Linked DNA regions of Homo sapiens: all the other regions are linked to region 1. Evidence: promoter capture Hi-C in 16 types of primary human blood cells and fetal thymus (Javierre and others, 2016). All regions are on one chromosome and are shown on one strand. Each heading gives the region's core, a stretch centred on a gene start or on the middle of the fragment in contact. The rest is flanking DNA. Distances are from core to core; before and after follow the strand shown. Region 1 holds the start of ST8SIA4 (ST8 alpha-N-acetyl-neuraminide alpha-2,8-sialyltransferase 4). Region 2 overlaps FAM174A (family with sequence similarity 174 member A). Region 3 overlaps FAM174A (family with sequence similarity 174 member A). Region 4 has its middle 76 kb from the start of FAM174A.

Evidence for each region. The method cuts DNA at HindIII sites, captures the fragments that hold promoters and counts their contacts. A CHiCAGO score of 5 or more calls a contact.
Region 2: a fragment that was not itself captured here is called in contact with the fragment with the promoter of ST8SIA4 in region 1 in 2 of 17 cell types (neutrophils and naive CD4 T cells); the score reaches 6.1 in neutrophils.
Region 3: a contact is called between a fragment that was not itself captured here and the fragment with the promoter of ST8SIA4 in region 1, in 1 of 17 cell types (neutrophils). The highest score is 5.8, in neutrophils.
Region 4: a contact is called between a fragment that was not itself captured here and the fragment with the promoter of ST8SIA4 in region 1, in 2 of 17 cell types (activated CD4 T cells and neutrophils). The highest score is 6.3, in activated CD4 T cells.

Annotation. Positions count from the first base shown.
Region 1 is chr5:100,901,840-100,904,886 of GRCh38, reverse strand. It overlaps ST8SIA4 (ST8 alpha-N-acetyl-neuraminide alpha-2,8-sialyltransferase 4), which reads left to right and starts at 1,605. Exons shown (of 5, transcript NM_005668.6): 1 at 1,605-2,044. The coding sequence starts at 1,932. LOC107986437 (a long non-coding RNA gene) reads right to left here and starts at 1,479. Exons shown (of 2, transcript XR_001742825.3): 1 at 1-1,479. RefSeq lists enhancers at 203-442, 1,223-1,462, 1,948-2,517. The HindIII fragment of the contact is 2,860 bases long and covers 1-2,058 here.
Region 2 is chr5:100,549,167-100,552,213 of GRCh38, reverse strand. All of the region lies in intron 1 of FAM174A (family with sequence similarity 174 member A), which reads right to left. Among named protein-coding and RNA genes, the nearest start is that of FAM174A, 15 kb to the right of the region's middle. The HindIII fragment of the contact is 3,737 bases long and covers 1-3,047 here.
Region 3 is chr5:100,569,073-100,572,119 of GRCh38, reverse strand. The region is part of intron 2 of FAM174A (family with sequence similarity 174 member A); the gene reads right to left. Among named protein-coding and RNA genes, the nearest start is that of FAM174A, 35 kb to the right of the region's middle. The HindIII fragment of the contact is 8,247 bases long and covers 1-3,047 here.
Region 4 is chr5:100,609,532-100,612,578 of GRCh38, reverse strand. No RefSeq gene overlaps it. Among named protein-coding and RNA genes, the nearest start is that of FAM174A, 76 kb to the right of the region's middle. The HindIII fragment of the contact is 4,982 bases long and covers 1-3,047 here.

The DNA of each region.
Region 1 (3,047 bases), core at 356-2,855:
TCTAACAGAAATGCATTAATGCAGGCTGGATTTGCCTAGACATCAATAAACTCGAAAGGCTCCCTGTGGGCCACTTGTAGTGTCAATAAACGTTCGTAATTACTTGCTCCTTGGAGCATTTTTATACCCGACCCCGTTCGCTGTGCTGCAAAGAGGAAATTCAAGATCTCGGAAGTTCTTAACTTCTTAAACTCTAGAGGAAGTATGGTAAACACTGGCGGGAACCTTGGGTTTTTAAGCAAAGATGCTGGCTGTTTTCGTTGCTATTTTAAGCTGTCAGGCGACAAGCAACTCAGAATTCCCCTTCTTACTTCCGGCGGGAGGGAAGATTGGAATTGGGCCTCATCATTTCTGAGCGTGAAAAACCGCTGAAGCTACTGTTCAACCTGAAGGAACACGGAATTCAACTGGAGAGAAACCCTGGCGACCAGGGAGCTGGGGACCGGCGCATATAGATGAGGGAAATCCTGGCTTCCAGACACTGTCTCATGCTAGAGGTGCCTCCCGACCTACCAGCCAACAGTAAAGACCGGAACCAAGGCGTGGTACTAGCAGAGTAGCAAGCATCTCTCCCAATGAGGGCAACGACTGGAGGATGGTGGAGAGGTACTCAGAGTGAACAATCGAACACAGAACTCTTGAAAAGTGTCCCTGCCACCCAATACAAGTACGAAAAATGGTGGGACGGAGGAGAGGTGACAATCAGAGGCTATATATATAATTGAGACTTTTAGAGAGGACTTTGCTCTTCCTTCCTCCCCTCCCTTTTCTTTCCTTTCTTTCTTTCCTTCCTTCCTTGGTATCCGAATGTGTGTGGGTGTACTTGCGTTTAAAAGAGAGGTCCATGGTAGCTGCTTTTTTTTCAGAACTCTGTTTCTCCGCAATGAAGTTTAAGTGGGATTGGAGTTTCCTTGACTTCTGCGTGAGGAGTTTCCAAATGGCAATGAAAGGGAGGCGCATAAATATCCATAAAGTTCCTAATGACACCTCTATCATCACTTGTTTCCTGCAGAATCCTGAGCCAGGGTCGTCGTCCACCACCCATGCAGAGTGGGCCCATCGGCTAACAGGTTCATGTGTGTATTTGCACTTTCCAGATTGAGTAATAAAAGTCTTCTTCCTTCCACCGCCGTCCCCACCCCCGCACCCCGTTTCACTCCACCTTGGAGGGCGTGTTTTTGCGTGTGAGGGTGTGTGTTTAGCAAAAGCGATTGAAAGAAGGTACTCTTCTTGCAATCCACCCCTAGCTCTACCTGAAGCATTCCTCTGGCGGGACGCTTTTGTAATCTGTCCCCAGGCGAGGTGCCCTCTCACCTAGATGCGGATAGACTATCTTGGAGCTCCCAGGTCCAGAGAGCTGATGCTTTGATGTCCCAGGAGAGTGTGTGTGATTCTGCGTGTACGTGTGTGTGCATATGTATGTATGTGTGTATGTATGTATATGTGTATGTGCGCGAGCTCGCAGGCGCGTAGCACTGTGAGCTTCCTCTCCCGGCACAGAGCAGGCAGAGCCGGGGACGTTACTCTCCAAGCAGCCTCCGCCCCCTCAGCCTGGTGATTGGCTTTGCGCAGCGTTTATCTCCTAGCAAGAGGGAAGGGCCAGTGACGCCCCCGAACCCAGCTGCAGAAGCTGCCGCCACCTCCAATGCACAAGGTGTCTCATCTGAAAAGAAACCTGAGCCCCAGGGAGGCGGCGCGGAGCGACCCTGGCAGAGCTGGCGCAAACAGGGCGAGAGGTCGCTGGGCAGCGTTCGAGGACCAGAGGGAGCTCGGCCACAGAAGACCCCAGTGATCTGATCCCGGGATCCCGGCTCCAAGCTCTCCTCGCATTTTACAGATTTCACCCCCGCGACTATCTCCCCAAAACGGAGCCTTTATATCAAGAGAAGGTGCGGGAGCTGGGGCAACCAGGACTTTCTCGGGCACCCAAGATGCGCTCCATTAGGAAGAGGTGGACGATCTGCACAATAAGTCTGCTCCTGATCTTTTATAAGACAAAAGAAATAGCAAGAACTGAGGAGCACCAGGAGACGCAACTCATCGGGTAAATGCAAAGCTTCATTTCAGGATATGACAAAAAGTCAAGCCATAAATGAAATGTGAATATAGAGGGTAGAGTGATGGTTAGGATAGCATGTGTGTTTGTTTGAGCTTGCGCGTGGTTAGTGTCATGAATTAAATAACAAAGGCTGTTGTTGAGATGTGCGTGCTTCTCTAAGCTGTTCCCAGTATGAGTTCAACTTGCTCTGTGTGGTTGTGGTGACAGTTGTGTTGGCCCTGGGTGCTCTCTCGCCAAAGGAGAAGTCACTGCAGAAGTGTCAACAAAGAACGTGTGTCCTTGTCCTTTTAATCTGTGGGCAGAACTCAAGAGAAATGTCTTTATTCACCAAACGGTTGCCTGTTTTCAATGTCCTATCACCTAAGGAGATACTGGAGATAGATGGTTTCTCGAAGGGCTGAAGTTAAAGCTTAGAAAGCAGGAAATAGGTATACTCTGTTTCTCTACTTTTTTTTTTTCTATTTGACGTTGGATAGATTAATGTGTTATAATTTGAATTAGAAACTCCAGTACCACTAAGGATACTTCCTTATTTGTTCTTCTACGGCTAAAACGCATGGGCGTCATGGTTACAGTTTTAGAAAGAAACTGGGTACTGTAGCTTCACACAGACTATATTTCTGCTATTTTTTTTAGTTTGTCTAGATGAGTTCAGACTCTCCCCCGCCCCACTAAGTTCTCTAAATATCACACTTCCTTCCACCCGCTGGCCTCTGTGTCTTTGAAGTTTACCCAGGAGGTGGTGCAACTTTGTGTTGCTGACATAGCTTGGAAGGCTTTTTCTGAGGATGTGAACCTGATTGTCAACTCTATTCAAAGTCCTGTTTCGGAAATCCTCCCTGTTCCGGTTTGGAGGCGTCCTCTATCAGAAACTACACACCAGCAGAGATGCCTGCCCAGTTTATATTTTTCTCTGACATTGATTAAAACAAAGAAAACAGCCCTTGCGTGTGTGTGTATGTGTGTGTGAGAGAGAGAGAGATGGGAC
Region 2 (3,047 bases), core at 160-2,659, 350 kb after region 1:
GTGAACCACAATTGTAGTTGTCTATACTTTTCATCAGGAAGTCCAACCCAATTGAATATATGACACATAGTAAAAATTCTTTTGACCAATCTGACATCATTCTCATCTTTATTCCCCATTTCCACAACCCAATCCATCAGTTGTCACTTCCACTTCTTCAAGAATCAGATACTAATAAGGGATATGTCTGCATGTTACAGGTTGAACTGCGTCTTCCAAAAATTCATATGTTGAAGTCCTAATCCCCGGTACTGCAAAATGTGGCCTTATTTAGAAATAAGGTCTTTATAGAGGTAATCAAGTTAAAATGAGATCATTAAGGTAGGCCCTCATCCAATGTGACTGATGTCCTTATAAACAGGGAAATTTTGGAGACAGACACGCACACAGGCAGAACGCCATGTGAACATGAAAACATCATTAAAAAGATCAAGAGAGGCCCAGAACAGATCCTTCCCTCACAGACCTCAGAAGGAACCAGCCCTGCCAGTATCTTGATTTTGGATTTCTAGCCTCCAGAACTGTGAGACAATAAATTTCTGTTGTTTAAGCCAGCCCACTTGTACTTTTTTGCAACAGCTCTAACAAATTAATATAGAATACAAGAGAATTGTTAGGGAAGGGCCTGTGAAGGATAAAGAGAGAGAGGAAAGGGAAATTAAGGAGATCTTACAAAGGGTAATAGAGATCTGACACCTGTGAAAGAGTGGAAAGGAAGGATGACCAGCTAGAAAGAGCTGTAGCTTGCAGTGCAGTTCTGGAAGAGTCTTCACCAGGCCAGTGGCATGCCTGTAAGCAAAGGCTGCCCATTAGCGGAGTTCCCTGTTAGTCAGGATGGCCAGGCTCTGCTCCACTCAGTCATCGGCTAGGGACAAGTTTAGGGGTTATTGTCCTGGCATGAATGCTGTGATGGACCCAAATCTGTGACAGCAGGAAGATGTCAAGCCACTTTGCTTCCCGTAGCATGTTCTCTTGAATGGAGGTCTGATTAGTGTATCTCCATGGCTGCCACAATCACAAGGTATTATTGATTGTACTTCCTAAAAATAATTTAAATTCATTTATATTGCTTACCATACCACTGCTATCCTATCATCTCTTCCTCTGCTGACTAAAATAGCTTCCTAATTCACTATCTCTGCCTACTCCGGCTATCCATTAACCTTCCCTTCATTCTCTAAAACCTTCAATGGTTTCCTATTACTCAACATTAAGTAATCAGTCTATAATATATGGCCTACAAAGATGAGCACAGGATGGCTCATCTTTCATTTTTAGCCTCATCTTGTTCTTTGCTCCACATTCCACTCCAGGTTCTGAACTCCAGCCGCACAGCCTTCTCTCAGTTCCTCATGATGGCCATGCTTTCTCTGCCATTGGCCTCACAGTCTTCTCTCACCTACCACAATACTGCTGTGTGAATGCCTGCTCATCTTTCAGCTGTCAGCTTAAATATAACTTCCTCAGGAAACCCTTTTCTGTTCTACCTAACTAGGTCACAAACCTCTACTATTGGCTTCCACTGAAACTATATACATGTCCTTTAAAGTGCTTATGAAAAGTTCACTTGTATACTTATTTAAGTAACTATTTGTCATCCCTACCAGACATTTGATTCCATGAGAGCAGGAGCTGTATCTGTTCTTACTCACCACAGTAGCCACAGCACACAACTTCTGTCATAAAGTTGATGCCTGATAAATATTGCTAAACAAATTAATTGAGTAAAATATATAGATTGGCAATATATCTTCCATTTTCTCTGTATAAGAAAGATATCTAAATTTTTATATATAAATTATCACCCTTGGAATAAAACAAGCCTGAAAGAACATCATTTCCAGATACATACCACAACAAAATCTAAGGGAGCTAGCCAAATTTAAAATCGTAATATGGACCTCTGGAGGCAACAGCTTTCTGACTCAGGACAAAAAAATAAAGTACTGGAATATTTAAATATATTAAACATGTACTCACATCAGGAGCTCTAAGATTTCATTTAGGATGTTTTAGGCATGATCCAGGCAACTGTCATACTCTAACCCAACTAGAATCCCTAATATTTAGTTTGTATCCTATGCTGAGTTTTATTTTTGTCCTTTTGGTATGCAAATTTACCATATTCTAAAAACACAGTTTTCCTCATATACACTATGAATAACTGAAGTTTATCCTTTCAAAAGCCAAACTGGCTTTTTGTACTACTTTTAACTTCTCAGCATTCTATATAGAACTGTATTCAATGCTAAAGATATTCCTGCCATCCTATACAGAAGAAAATGAGATATTTTAAAAGTCTCTTTTTAACCTCTCAGGATCATTATAATTAGTGACTTTGATATAAACTCTCAGGAGCTATTAAAATGTATATGACTCCATGTTGAAGTTCGCAGATTATTGTAGTTTTGAATTCCTTTAGCATTTTTTCATATTTTTAAAAAAACCCTCTCTATTAGCTTGACAGTTATCCAGCTCTGCCCCTACCACAATCTCGACCACGTGCATCCTTAACTAGAAAGTTCCTTCAACGAGGTATACTGCTACTGCTGAATTCTAATGAAGTGTTTACTGCTAACACCCAAAGGTCAAAAAAAAAAAAAAAATCAAAAGCGTGTTCATGTATGTTCAGGACACTGCAACCTTGTTTTCCTTGATAGATACCTTTTCTCTCCCAACTCCTTGTAATTCAGTACATACAATCACTTCCTGTGATTATGTTTGTCTCCTGTTGAAGGCATGTTGGCAGACACCCCCAGGTAAAGTAAATCCTAAATCAACGTTATATAGTTTGGCTTTGAAGTATTCCATATGAAAGTATGTAACACATAGTTTCCTTGTCATATCTCCTCTTTGTCTTGACATGGATTTCTTTGTCTTCCCTTTTAGGACCTAAGGCTCAGGATGTGAGACTTGGTAATTCTTCTGACCTCCATTTCTAAAAGTTCAGCATGGATTTATTTCCCAATCAACCTTAAAGTTCTATCTACAGTTCAGTACCCCCAAGATTCATCCTTTGTAGCCTCTCACTGGTTCTATGACCAACC
Region 3 (3,047 bases), core at 389-2,888, 330 kb after region 1:
ATTAAATCATATAGATAATATTTTAAAGTACTTCTGTAAAACTTTCAACAGTTCTTAAAAAAATTAATCAGGAATATCTGAGTCAGCAAGGGAATCATCTTTTCAGTTCAATGGTAAAACCCAAACTGCAACAGTTATATGTTTCCTGATATTCTTTGATGGCAGACTTGAATTTGCCTTGGTTTACAAAATATGTGGCTAATATAATCAGTACAGTAACATATAACACATGTAACTATAGCCATCAGAGACTTTGCTGTAAAAATGGTTGTAAAACCTACTGTATCCATTGCAGGGTATTTGTAGCAACCTTGGCAATGGAAAGTAGATTTACTGATCACAATAACAACAGTAAAAGATGCCACATTTCTCAACCTTTCTATTACTTTATAATAAAGTAACAGTAAAGTAATAGGGTGTGTGTGTGTATATATATATATATATATACACACACACACTTAGGTATATACTTTATATATTGAAGTACATATATATTTATATACTGGAATATAGAAATATAAATTTAAATAAATATTTCTATATATTTATATATTTATTGGAATATATATTTATACATTTAAGTATTTAAATAATCACAAGGAAAAGCAGTTATGTGAAAATTACGCACATAATTCACCACTTAATTGATTTCTAAAGTCCAGTGTATTATGGACAAATTTCTTGATAAAGCAATTTACAATTACATGAGAAGTAACAGAAAATCTGAATAGCTCTATGTATATTAAATAACTCTTCCCATCCAATAAAAAAGTCCCTTCACTTAACAGTTTCACTCATTTGTTCTATCAAATACTTAAGGAAGAAATAATGGCAGTGTTACACAGATTTTTTAAATACATAGATGCAAAGGGATCACTTCCCAACACATTTTATGAGAAACGCAAACCCTAATATCAAAACATGATAAAGATAATATAAAAGACACACACACACACATATATATATACACACACATATATATGTATATGTACATATAAACTCTATAAACTACAGACAAAAATACTTTAAGAAAACATTAGTGAATTGAACCCAACGATATATAGAAGGGTACCATGACAAAGAAGGATTTGTCTCAGGACTATTATGTTGGTTTAACATTCAAGAATCAATTAATGAAATTCACCATGTTTATTTACAGAAAGGAAAAAAACAATCACTTTCAGTACATGCAGAAAAAGTATATGATAAAATTCAACACTATTCATGATAAAAACTCTTAGCAATCTAGAAATAGTAAGAAATTTACTTATGCTAACAAGCAATATCAAAAAAACTGACAGCTAACCTACTTAATATTGGGGCAAGCCTTATCTGATATTTACTTCCTACAATGCTACAGCAATAAAAATAATTTGATATATTATATGCATATAATCCGGGATATCCAACTATTTTAAAATCCACCTATTAGCAATCTTAATTCCCTCTGCAATCTTTGGCCATCTTTGTCATGTAACTGAACAGATTTAAAGGATCTAAGAGATTAAGATGTAGGCATTATATAGCTGTTCTGGGAAATCCTTGGTCAAGTTCCTATTTCAATGACTAAAGAGATCTTATATCTCCACATAAGTATAGACTTTTTCTTCCAATTTACTTGGGGGAAAATGGTATTAAACATGAGTATCATTTTTTACTGAAGTGAGCCACAATAAGATCAGTGTGCAGCTTTCACACAAGAAAAGTTTAAAATGTTTAATGAATTGATAGTGTAATGCATGTTTAATCTCTAATATCAACATTAAAAAATCAGATCGAGTTCTGCCCATTGAATTAAAAAGTCAGATAGGGTCCTTCTTCAAATAAAGTAATGGTATTTGGAATGTATATCTCATTACCGAAAAAAATGTCTAAGCCACAGAAGGTAATAGGAATAAACACACCTCTTCTCACACCTCTTTAAAAATGCTGTTATGTGGTAGAAATGTGGCCACCTTCCCCAAATTACAGTCACCCGACCTCTGTGTTTTAGACTCTGAAAAAAATAGCACAGATGTCTAGAATTAGTGTGAGTGTAATTTAAATGATGTTTGATATTGTTTCAAGAAGAGAATAAAAGGAGAATAGAAAAACTGTATGACTATTCTTTGCTTCTTTATGCCCTGAAATATCCATCCTTATTGCTCATTTTAAAAGAGAAAAGTAAATCTGGCTTAGAGAAGAGCATTATTCCCGATTTAGTCAAAACCCAAAAATTGTGAATCCCAACTCCATATCTAAGACTCCTTCATTCTGCACTGTGGAGATATATATATATATATCTCCATATATATGTATGTGTATATATGATTGTTAAATGCCTGAGGCTGAGCATTTTGTCCATTTTTGTGCACTATTGTATACATCCCCAGAGCTTAGTAGAGTGCCTGGGGCACATGGTAGTTAATCAGTGCTTTTAATGAAAGAATGAATCTATCCAATTTGCTCTGCCCAGTAGGATATCATCTTATAGGCACCTTCAATTTCTCATCATTAAAACTGATTTCACATTATCTGACCCATAATTCTGCTCCCAGAAATTTACCCTGAAAATCCACCTCCAACAATACAAAAACACATTTGCACAGAGTTATTCCTTGCAGTACTATTTATAATTACAAAACAACTAAAAACTACCTAAATGTCAAACCATAGGTGATTGAATAAACCATGGTTATTATGCTATAGCCACTATTGAATAATATGCAGCTGTAAATATATATATATAATAATAGCCTCTATAGAGTAATATGTAACTCTATGTCATATATGTTCATATACATATGACATAGTAAATGGCATGACTTATAGCTACATATTACTCTATTGTGATTATAATACATACATATATGGCATGACTTATAGAAAATATCAAATACAACAAAAAAGTATAATACAGCATATATAGCATATTACATCTTATGTAAGAAATGAGGTAAACATAAGAAATACATGTTTCTGTCAACTTTTACCAAAAAAACTATAGGGAAGATAAACCAGAAAATAATGAAGTTGTTTGTCTTCAAAGGATGAGGTGGGAAGAATGG
Region 4 (3,047 bases), core at 329-2,828, 290 kb after region 1:
CTTTTTTCATCCTTTTATTTTCAGCCACTTTGTATTGTTTTACAATGGGTGAATTTTTAATAGAGTTATATTTTTACAATTTCAATTTCAGAGTTTCTTATAAAAGACAAGTTTATTATCTTCCTTATTGTGAATATTAATATTAATGTGTATTTCATCCTTTTGCAATTTTGTTTGTATTCCATGCTGCCTTTGATACATTGTTTTCTTTTTACCTTTTGTTGAATTCATAAGCTCCTCCTTTTCCCCATTACTCATAATTAAGTTATACATTCTATTTTTAACCTTATTGATCAGCCTTAAATACAAAACAGACTTATTTACTTTCAAAGTTTTCTGAAAAATTTCAAAGCCAGTACAGAAATATATTTTGCCTTCTCTCCCAACTGTTTATTCTTCCTTCTTCTTCTAAACTTATTTGTATTAAACAACATGGTTTATCAATTAATTTTTTAATCATTTCTTCCTGCTTTCCACTCTGTTCTTCTGGATTCATTTTATTTCTTATTGAAATGTATCCTTTAATAATTTTTCCCTTAAACTACTCACATCTATGAAACTCTTAATCATGTTTTGCCTATACATGTATTTATTTTATTTCTACTTTTGAATAAAAGATGAGCTTAATAGAAAATTCTAGGTTGCACAATTAGAAACAGCAAAGGGGATGATATCACTAACGCCAGAGAAACATTTCTCTGGACACAAATTAGAAAATCTAGAAGAAATTGATAAATTCTTGAACACCTTACCTAGACTTAAACAGGAAAAGTTGAATTTCTGAACAAACCAATAACAAACTCCGAAATTGAATCAGTAATAAATAGCTTACCAACCAAAAAATCTCAGGACCAGATGGATTCACACCCAAATTCTACAAAATTTACAAAGAAAAGCTGATACCATTCCCACTAAAACTATTCCAAAAATTTGAGGAGGAGGGACTCTTCTCCAACTCATTCTATGAGACCAGCATCATCCTAATACCAAAGCCTGACAGATAGACAGACAAACACACACACACACACACACACACACACACACACACACAAAAGAAAACTTCAGGTCAATATTTTTGATGAATATAGTTGCAGAAATCCTCAACAAAAATACTAGCAAACAGAATTGACCAGCACATCAAAAAGCTAATCCAGCAGAATCAGTAGGCTTTATCTCTAAAAGCAAGGTTGGTTCAACACACACAAATCAATAAACGTGATTCATCATATAAGTAGAACTGAAAACAAAAACCACATGATTATTTTGATAGATGCAAGAAAGACTTTCAATAAAATTCAACATATTTTTATGTTTAAAACATTTCAATAAACTAGGTATTGAAGGAGCATACCTGGAAATAATAAGAGTCATCTATGAAAAACTCACAGCAAACATCATACTTCATGTGCAAAAGCTATAAGCATTCCCTTTGAAAACCAGCCCAAGACATGGATGCCATCTCTCACTATTCCTATTCACCATAGTATTGCAAGTCCTGGCCAGAGGAATCAGGCAAGAGAAAGAAAAAAAGTCATTCTAAATAGGAAGAGAAGAAGCCAACGTATGTCTGTTTGCAGACAACATCATCCTATACCTAGAAAACCGTAAAGTCTCAGCCCCACAGCTCTTAGAGCTGATAAACAACATCAGCAAAGTTTCAGGATACAAAATCATTGTACAAAAATCACTAGCGTTCCTGTATACCAATTACAGCCAAACCGACAGCCGAGTCAGGAATACAATCTCATTTAAAATTGCCACAAAAAGAATAAAATACCTAAGAATAGAGATAACCAGGGAGGTGAAAACCGATACAATGAGAATTACAAAACACTGCTCAACAAATCAGAGGACACAAACAAATGGAAAAACATTCCATGCTCATGAATAGGAAGAATTAATACTGTTAAATTGCCATGCTGCCCAAATTTACAGATTCAATGCTATTCCTATTAAACTACCAATGACATTCTTCACAAAACTAGAAAAAAAATATTTAAAATTATATGAAACCAAAAAGGAGACTGAATAGCCAAGGCAATCCTAAACAAAAAGAACGAAGCTGGAGGCATCACATCACCAGACTTCAAACTGTACTAAAGAGCTACGGTAAACAAAATAGCATGGTACTCGTACAAAAACATGCACAATGGAACAGAATAGAGAGGCTAAAAATAAGGCTGTATACCTATGACCATCTGATCTTCAACAAAGCTGAAAAACAAGCAATGGGGAAGGAACATCTTATTCAATAGATGGTCCTGGGATAACTACCTAGCCATATGCAGAAGATTGAAACTGGACCTCTTTCTTATACTACATAAAAAAATCAACCAAGATTAATGGAAGACTTAAATGTTAAACCCAAAACTATGAAAACTCTTTAAGATAAACTAGGAAATTTCATTCTTGACATAGGATCTGACAAAGATTTCATGATAAAGATATCAAAAGCAATTGTAGCACAAGCTGAACTTGACAAATGGAACCTAATTAAACTTAAGAGCTTCTGCACAGGAAAAGAAACTATTAACAGAGTAAACAGACAACCTACAGAGTGGGAGAAAATATTTACAAACTCTTCATCTGACAGAGGCTTAATAACCAGAATCTGTAAGGAGCTTAAACAAGTTAACAAGCAAAAATCATGCAAGGCCGTTAAAAAGTGGGCAAAGTACGTGAACAGACACTTTTCAAAAGAAGACATACATGAAGCCAACAAGCATATGAAAAGAAGATAAACATCACTAGTCATTAGAAAACTGCGAATAGAAACCACAATGAGATATCATCACCACCAGTCAGAATAGCTATTATCAAAAAGTCAAAGAATAACAGATACTGGTTGTTGATAAAAAGGAATGCTTATACGTTATTTTTGTGACTGTAAATTAGTTCAACCGTTATAGAAAGCAGTGTGGCAATTCCTTAAAGAGCTAAAAACAGAACTACAATTCGACCCAGCAATCCCAGTAATCGGTATAAATCCAAAGGAATATAAATTGTTCTGCCATAAAGACACATACACAAGTTTGTTCATTGCAGCA